Linked DNA regions of Homo sapiens: all the other regions are linked to region 1. The links are contacts of gene promoters, found by promoter capture Hi-C in human tissues and cell types (Jung and others, 2019). All regions are on one chromosome and are shown on one strand. The core of a region is centred on a gene start or on the middle of the fragment in contact, and the rest is flanking DNA. Distances in the headings are between cores, read along the strand shown. Region 1 holds the start of KIF13B (kinesin family member 13B). Region 2 overlaps KIF13B (kinesin family member 13B). Region 3 overlaps KIF13B (kinesin family member 13B).

What was found. The method cuts DNA at HindIII sites, captures the fragments that hold promoters and counts their contacts. A contact is called where the count stands out against the background at its distance.
Region 2: a fragment that was not itself captured here is called in contact with the fragment with the promoter of KIF13B in region 1 in 4 of the 25 tissues and cell types used here (H1 embryonic stem cells, IMR-90 fibroblasts, dorsolateral prefrontal cortex and 1 more).
Region 3: a fragment that was not itself captured here is called in contact with the fragment with the promoter of KIF13B in region 1 in 2 of the 25 tissues and cell types used here (bladder and lymphoblastoid cells).

Annotation. Positions count from the first base shown.
Region 1 is chr8:29,261,719-29,264,466 of GRCh38, forward strand. KIF13B (kinesin family member 13B) reads right to left here and starts at 1,352. Exons shown (of 40, transcript NM_015254.4): 1 at 1,262-1,352. The coding sequence starts at 1,316. RefSeq lists a silencer at 730-1,559. The HindIII fragment of the contact is 11,996 bases long and covers 1-2,748 here.
Region 2 is chr8:29,149,111-29,151,858 of GRCh38, forward strand. It overlaps KIF13B (kinesin family member 13B), which reads right to left. Exons shown (of 40, transcript NM_015254.4): 15 at 1,187-1,273. Among named protein-coding and RNA genes, the nearest start is that of KIF13B, 110 kb to the right of the region's middle. The HindIII fragment of the contact is 7,540 bases long and covers 1-2,748 here.
Region 3 is chr8:29,166,080-29,168,827 of GRCh38, forward strand. It overlaps KIF13B (kinesin family member 13B), which reads right to left. Exons shown (of 40, transcript NM_015254.4): 11 at 1,294-1,506. Among named protein-coding and RNA genes, the nearest start is that of KIF13B, 96 kb to the right of the region's middle. The HindIII fragment of the contact is 8,522 bases long and covers 1-2,748 here.

The sequences.
Region 1 (2,748 bases), core at 102-2,601:
AAGTAATTAAGTTCTTAGGGAAAAAAACTCACCTGACAGCTTTAATCGGACCTAGCAGGAACAGGACAAAACAATTCCCATAGATGAGATAACTCCAAGCGAGAAACCAATTTCCCCGAGAAGGACAAACCAACAAAGCTTATGTCAACTGGTTGATCTGTATGTCTCAATATATACAAAAGAAAGCAAAGAAGAGGAAAACAACCTATAATTTCTACATAAAAATTAAACAACACTTGATTTTGCTAAGAAGCTACAACTTTGTCTCTGGTACTTAAATGATTCTAATTAGTTCAAAGTCTCATCAATGGCAAAGTCATCTCCTGAGACAGTAATAGTGACCCCCAATGACAGGACCTTGTATATAAAGCGTTTTCAAACACATTATCTTATTTAAAGCAACTCACCCAGTCATGCTGCTTTGACTATCAAAGCCAAGACCCAGCCCACCTCCTCCCCTGACTTTTGGGGTTCTCTCCACTCCCCGGGTCTACAGATTATTTAAATGTACTCGGTTTATCTGCCTTCTCTACACTCCCTGCAGAGTTAAGAGAATGTCAGAAAGATACAATTCCACAAGAATCTTGGCACTTTAGCTATTTATTGAGAGATGATGAATGAGACTTCAGGCAAAACCAAAACTTTCTCAACTGTCCAAAAACAACGAAAAGGGCATCTCCTCCACCTGACCCCAATCTCAGGACGCCCAGGTGGAAGGAACTCGCCGCGGGGCACCCGCCTGGCCCCCTGCCCTTCTTCCCGCCGCGGGCCAAGGCGGTGCAGGCTTGGGCGACCCGGGCGAGACGCGGGGTCCCGGGGGGTCCCGGGCGGTCCCGAGGCGGGCTGCAGGGGCTGGCGACCCGCGCGCGGGGGCGACGATGACAGCTGGCGGGGAAGGAGCGAGGCTGAGGGGCCAGGACGAGGCTGGGCGCGAGGGCCGAGGGCGCCCTCGGGAACCTCCGGGGGAGACGAGAGGGCAAAAGGGCGCAGGGGCGGGGCGGGCGCAGGCGGAAGGGGCAGCGGGGCCGGCACGAGGGGCCCGACGGCGCCAGGGACGGGGCTGGCCAGGGGGGAAGGGAGGGGAGAAGAGGGAGCCGGGCGTCTCAGCGCGGGAGCGGGTTTCAGGGTCCCCGGGCCCCTCCTCGCGCCCCGCCGCTGACTATAGGGGCGGGGCCGCCGGACCCCCCACGGCGGCCGAGGGAAGGGCGCGCCAGGCACCTGCCGCCTCCGCCCCGGCGGCCCAGGAGGGCTCGGCTCTCACCTCGCCGGTTCATGGGTCGTATCCGCACCGCCACTTTCACTTTGGAGTCCCCCATCCTGCAGCCGCCGAGGAACTCGTTCGGCTTCCGTCTGCCGCGGCCACCGGCGACTCTTCGGGGTTGACCCGGCGGGAGGGGGCCGGGGGCGGAGCCGGGGGTGGGGACCGGGCTGGGGGCGGGGCCGGCGCGAGCTCCGGGCGCTCCCCGCTGTATGGCGGGACTTGTAGTTCCCCAGGGTCGTCGTGGGCGGGGCCGCAGCGAAGGCGGGGGCGGGAATGCTCGGGCGCGAGTCGTTTGCTACAACTTACCTACAGCAATGACGGCTTTTGTAAATTACACACCATTCTTGCTCTCGCAGCCAGTATTGAGAAGTAAGCCTTCAAGAGCTGATACCTCTTCTGAAAAACAATTGAATAGATGGCGTCAGGGACCCCGCTACCTCTTCCTGCTCATTTCCTGCCAATCTTAGTGTTTGATCCCTGGCTCAAGTTATTTCCTCTGCCTGGATTGACGTCCGGCCTTGTTTGCTGAGCTCGTCCTTCACGACAAGTTGCAAATCACGTTTTCTGGGAGTGTCCATAGGTCCACGGGTTAACATTGTCCTGTGAGTCCCCCTCCTTTGAGACAGGACCTTGGGCTCTGAAAACCATCTGAGTTCAAAGCCCACCTCAGCGCTTCCCACTGTGTGACCAGGGGCAAGTTATTTGACCGCTCTGGGCTTGTCTTTAATATGAAAAGTGGATATGATACTAATACCTAGTAAAATAGGTACATTTTTAAATAAGATTAACATATGTGTAACCTAGCCTTTAGTAGAGACCCATAAACATTAATTGCATGAATTAATGAATGAGGCCACACTAAAATTAGCTTTTTATTAGCCCTGGCAGACATTCTAACAGGTGGCCTGGGTGCCAGAGCCAGCACGCAAACATGTTCTGTTTGGCCCAACAGTGTTGGCCAACACATAAAAATCAGATTTGTGGCCAGGTGCAGGGGCTCACACCTGGAATCCCAGCATTTTAGGATGCTGAGGCAGGAGGATTGCTTGAGGCCAGGAGTTTGAGACCAGCTTGGGTAACAGAGTGTGAAATCAGATTTGTGCATGCAGTACTGGGCCTACATTACATATTGGACAGAGTGGATTGGAACTAAATAGCAGCAGCCACCTTTATCAGAGACCCGTCTCTCCACTTCACCACGGCCCCCCTCCAGGTGGCTTTACCACACATGCGCCTGGACCTTGTGGGTTTGTGACCCCTGCTTAGATGTGTTTAAATGATAGTAATAGAACTCAGAACCATTTTACAGATGAGTAAATACAGAAAGCTGGTAAGACTTGCCCTTTTACCAACCATCCTGTTATTGAGTATCTTCAATACAAGCAATGTTGTCAAAAAGTATAAAAATACTTTTTTTTTTTTGAGATGGATCTAGCTCTGTCACCCAGGCTGGAGTACAGTGGCATGATCTCGGCTCACTGCAACCT
Region 2 (2,748 bases), core at 109-2,608, 110 kb before region 1:
TGTGGGAAAAGATGTGAAAATGGAAATGTTCATATTCCCTGGAGAAATGGGTAAAACAACGGGATATTCAAAATTTGTATAGCACACTAGAGCTAAAGCTGGAAAGATCAGCTTAATCCAAACGATGAGGGTTTTGAACACAAAACAAAGCAGTTTACACGTCATTTAATTTAGGAAGGAAAAAAATGCTCCATGCTCTTTGTGCCCATCTACCCTTTTCTCAGTAACCAAAATATCACTGGCCCATGGCAAAGGATCTCTGTTAGCTACAGAAAAGTCAGTATGACATCTGGAGCACACCGACCAGTGACAATAACAAGAGACCAGGATGTTAACTTTTTACAATATCCAGCCTGCCTGCCTTGTCAACACAACATCAATTTTGTTTGGGAAACCACATGTACAGCCCCAGGTGAGACACAGTCTTTCTCAGCCCCCTTTGTAGCTAAGAGGCAAATTCTAGCAAAGGAGACAGAAGGAGAAGATTGCTGGGGACTCTGGGAAGACTTCTCTGTTTTTTTGGATGAACAGGACAGTCAGGGCTAGTGCAGCTATGGTTCTCCTTTTTCTTCCTGTACCTGAATGCTGCTTTGACGGCAGTGCAGCATGGCCAACTTCAGGCCACAGAGAGATGCCAAGACAGTGACCAGACTTTAGCCATGACTTTTTTTGAGAGGCTTAGCCAACACTAACAACTATGTTCCTTTAGATTTCTGGTTCTGTCAGGGGAATAAATGATCTGTCTAACCCATTACAGTAAAATTTGCCATGACTTAGAGCTGAAAAGAATTCCTAAAAGAACCTTATTTTATAGATAAGGAAACTAAAACCACGACTACGTTTCCGTAAAAAAATAAATAAAAAAAAAGATAAACATGTCAGAAAAACATTAATAAATTCTTACACCACACGGCAAAAGAATCATCTTCTAGTGGGAAATAAAAGGGAAAAACTATGTAGGTAAACTCAGTATTTTTCCAGAGTATATTGTTTATATGTCCCTAGGGTTCAGACCATATACAGTGAATGAACACACACACACATATATAATACACATGCAGCAAATATATACGTACACACACAATAACATAATTGTTGTAGAGAAAGGTTTACTTTTTAACATGTATTTTCTATTTCAGAGCACAATCTTCAACAATCTCTTTAAGGGACATGAACAACATCATACCTGAAGAAATGATTGTTTCCCCATAATATCCTGTCCCCATGGTGTAGCTGTATTGGACTGGAGACAGATGACCCATTTACAAATGTTCTGTAAGGAGAAGAGATCAAACGTGAATGATGAGTACAGTATCATGTCTTCTGCTTTAATTTCCCAATAACATAGAGATATAGTTACTAGGGAAAACAATAATTCCCCCAAACACAACCTGTTCTTGGTGAATTTTAATATTTGCATTTACTCCTTTGCTGATTCACCTAAAATGTTTATGGTACAAAGCACAGGCACATCTCATTTTACTGCGCTTTGCTTTATTGTGCTTTGCAGATATCACATTTTTTACAAACGCTATCCTATGTTAAGCAAGGCTACAGGAGATACTTTTCAAACAGCACGTGCTCACTTCACGTCTGTCATGGAGGTCTGTGATAAGGGACCTCTGACCTCACCTCTCTAATTGTTTTTGGAACATCGTGAACTGCACCCATGTAAAATGGTAAATTTAGTAAATGTAGTATGGGTTTTGACTCTCTCCCTCTCCTCGGGTCTCTTTATTCCCCGAGACACAACCATATTGAAATTAGGCTAATTAATAACTACAATAACCTCTAACTGTTTAAGTAAAAGAAAGAGTCACACATCTCTCAAAAGGTGGAAATAATTAAGCTCAGTGAGGAATCACATCGAAAACCAAGACAGGACGAAAAGCCAGGCCTCCTGTACCAACAGTTGGCCAAGCTGTGAGTGCACATGAAAAGCTCTTGAAGGAAATTAAAGGTGCTTCTCCAGCGACTACATGAATGATAAGGCTGAACAGTCTTCCTGCTGATATGGAGAAAGTTCAGTGGTCTGGATGGAAAATCAACCCAGCCACAATATTCCCTCAACCAAACCCTAACCCAGAGCAAGGTCCTAACTCTCTTTAATTCTATGAACTGGGAGAAGTGAGGAAGCAACAGAAGAAAAGTTGGAAGCTAGCAGAGGTCGGTTCATGAGGTTTAAGGAAAGAAGCCACCTCTGTAACATAAAAGTGCAAGGTGAAGCAGCAAGTGCTGATGGAGAAGCTGCAGCAAGATCACTGATGAGATTTTTGATGTAGATGAAACAGACTTCTACTGGAAGAAGATGTCATCTCGAACTTTCTTAGCTAGAGAAGAGAAGTCAATGCCTGGCTTCAAAGCTTCAATGGCAGGCTGATTCTCTTAGGGGCTAATGTAGCTGGTGACTTTTAAGTTGATGCCAATGCTTACTGACCATTCTGAAAATCCTAGGGCCCTTAAGAATTATGCTAAATCAGCTCTGCCTGTGCTCTGTAAATGGAACAAAGCCTGGATGACAGTACGTCTGTTTACATCACAGTTTGCTGAATATTTTAAGCCCACTGTTGAGACCTAATGCTCAGAAGATTCCTTCCAAAATATTACTGCTCATTGATAATGCACCTGATCACCCAAGAGCTCTGATGGAGATGTACAAGGATATGAATGTTGTTTTCATGCCTGATAACACAACATCCACTCTGCAGCCCATGGATCAAGAATTTTCACTTTCAAGTCTTATCATTT
Region 3 (2,748 bases), core at 159-2,658, 96 kb before region 1:
GGTTATACATCTAGACTCAGACACATGATTCATTCTAGCCCTTATTGATGACTTCAGGAATTTATCCACATATGTACAGACTAAATGTGTACATGTTGCAGACTGGATGGTGTTATTAACACCAAGGAGACAACAGTCTTCATGGACTATAAAATTATTCCTATAAAAACAGGATAAAATTCAACAGGTAAAAATACGATCAAGATAATCATCCTGACCATGTCTCTTACTGATTTATTCCCAGAAAACAGGTATGAGAAAGAAAGCAAACTCCAGAAAGAGCCCCACAGTGCTGAGTAACTGTGGGAAGAGAAATGCTAATGAAAGTAGGAATCCTGGCCGAGCACGGTGGCTCACGCCTGTAATCCCAGCACTTTGGGAGGCCGAGGCGGGCGTATCACCTGAGGTCAGGAGTTCAAGTTCAAGACCAGCCTGACCAACATGGAGAAACCCTGTCTCTATAAAAACTACAAAATTAGCTGGGCGTGGTGGCGTGCGCCTGTAATCCCAGCTACTCAGGAGGCTGAGGCAGGGGAATCACTTGAACCCAGGAGGCAGAGGTTGCAGTGAGCTGAGATCACACCATTGCACTCCAGCGTGGGCAACAAGAGTGAAACTCCACCTCAAAAAAAAAAAAAAAAAGTAGGAATCCTGAATCTAATATTTCATTCCACTTTCCCAAGAAGATGAGCACTTGGGATTGCAGGTCAGAGTTGGTAGGTTTTCAAATTTATTAATGCAACATTATCCATTACAGAATACACAGAAAACAGCTGTAATAGAGTACCACTAAATACATGGGTACTTCTACTACAAAATATTTTCTACAAACGTAATTAATCCACAACATGGAAAAGCTAGATTATGAAGGTGTAGAAGACTCAAGATTTTCATTCCGACTTCTACCAGGTAACAAATGAGATTCAACAAAAATCCTGCTCTCCATCATTTTCTGCACAAAAATTAAAATTACATACACATGGTCTCCAGCATCTCTCTTCCTCTCCTATTCTATTATACCTCTCTCTTTTGTCTGCCGCCTGAATAGAAATGCAAACATTTTCTCAATTCTATTTGCTCCTGTTCAATCTTTTTAACATCTGTAAAACCTCTTTGGAATTCTAATATGACAACCTTCCTTTATTTATTACTCATCCCAAAGTTCTCTTGCTGTAAGAAATTCGCAAATTTTAAGTAGAGTACTCATCCCTCACAGCCCAGGGGAAGGAAATTCAAGCTCTAGGCTGATTCCTCTTCCTGGACTCACAGGGCGCACGCGGTGGTGCCTCCTACCTCTGCTTTGGTCAGCTGCTCCCGGAGTTTCTCAACTTCTTCCCGGAGATCCCGGATAATTCGGGCATTAGGGTCCTCATTCACCACAGCGTGGTTTACAATGTGCTTGGCTCGATCTGCATACCGCAGAGTTGAGAGGGTTTCATCATAGTTATCAGCTGCAGGACTCACAGTAGCCACCATGGCGGTCTTGCTGTTACCCCCGAGGCTGTCCTACAGGAGAAAACAGAAAGTTGAGTAGCATATTAAAGTTGGAAGAAGACGTCATATGAGAAACCTGAAATCAAAAATGGTGAACAAATTTCCCCAGGTCAAACACATTCAATGACAGAGCCAGGGCTAAAATGCAGGTGTATGGACTCGAGTCCTGTGCTGTTTCTTCTCTGCCAAGCCATTGCACTAAAAATAGGGAGTTTTAGCCTTTGATAAAGGACGGGGAAATGTCATGAAACCTACCTTTATTTCGGTTTAACACAAATTAATTCTAAGTCATCTGCCCTATTTTATAGGCAAGATGATACCACAAGAACACAGACTACTCGGAATAAAAAAGGACTCCTTAAATGCCTCCAACATCTTCCTCCTTAGAGGAACAAGCATGATACTTACTTGGCAACCTCCTCCACAACCCCCTGTACTGGGAGTCTCTGTGAAGCCTAATAATGGCTCAGAAAGTTGCTGTTACAAGCTATCAAGCACCTTGTAAAGTTTTTAAAACATAAGGTACAATTATAGTCTCACAAAAAAGTATGTTAAAGCAACTTCATTTTCTTCGCTCTGATAGCACTTCAAAAGCTACTAAGATTGCAAGTTCTACAGAAGCACTTCCACCGTTCAGACAATGGTCCTGAGAAGAGATACTGTCTTCATGACACTCAAACTGCTAAGTACAGTGAAACGGCTTTAGGACCGACTGGCTTCCAACAGAATGAAAAACCACCCTCACTTGAGAACATTAAAAATAGAGATTTAACTCAAGCACAAAAGAAGACTTGGGGCATCAAGCCCACTGCGCTCTGCTGCACCACAGACAAGGCTGCCTATGCAGGCGACCTCCTGGCGCCCACACCCTAGTACTCTCTGCTTCCCTTGAGGGTGGCCAGGACTTATTCATCGGTCTCCAAGGAATGAAAGTGATGGCATGTCACCTCTAAGGGTAGATTCAAAGAAGATGGTGGCTTCTGTCTTGGGTGTTTTCTTTCACTCTGGGGGAAACGGGCTGCCGTGAAGTGAGGTGGCCCTACGAAGAGAGGCCCACAGGCACGAGTTTGGAAGCAGATCTTCTGGACCCTGCTGACAACCATGTAAGTGAGCAGACACCTCCCCACACCGGTCATGCCTTGAGATGATGATGACGGCAGCCCCCCATCCCCAACACTTTAATTACATCCATGTGAAACAACCCGGCTAGAGCCACGTCATTAAGCCACACGCACCCGGAGTCCTGACCTATGG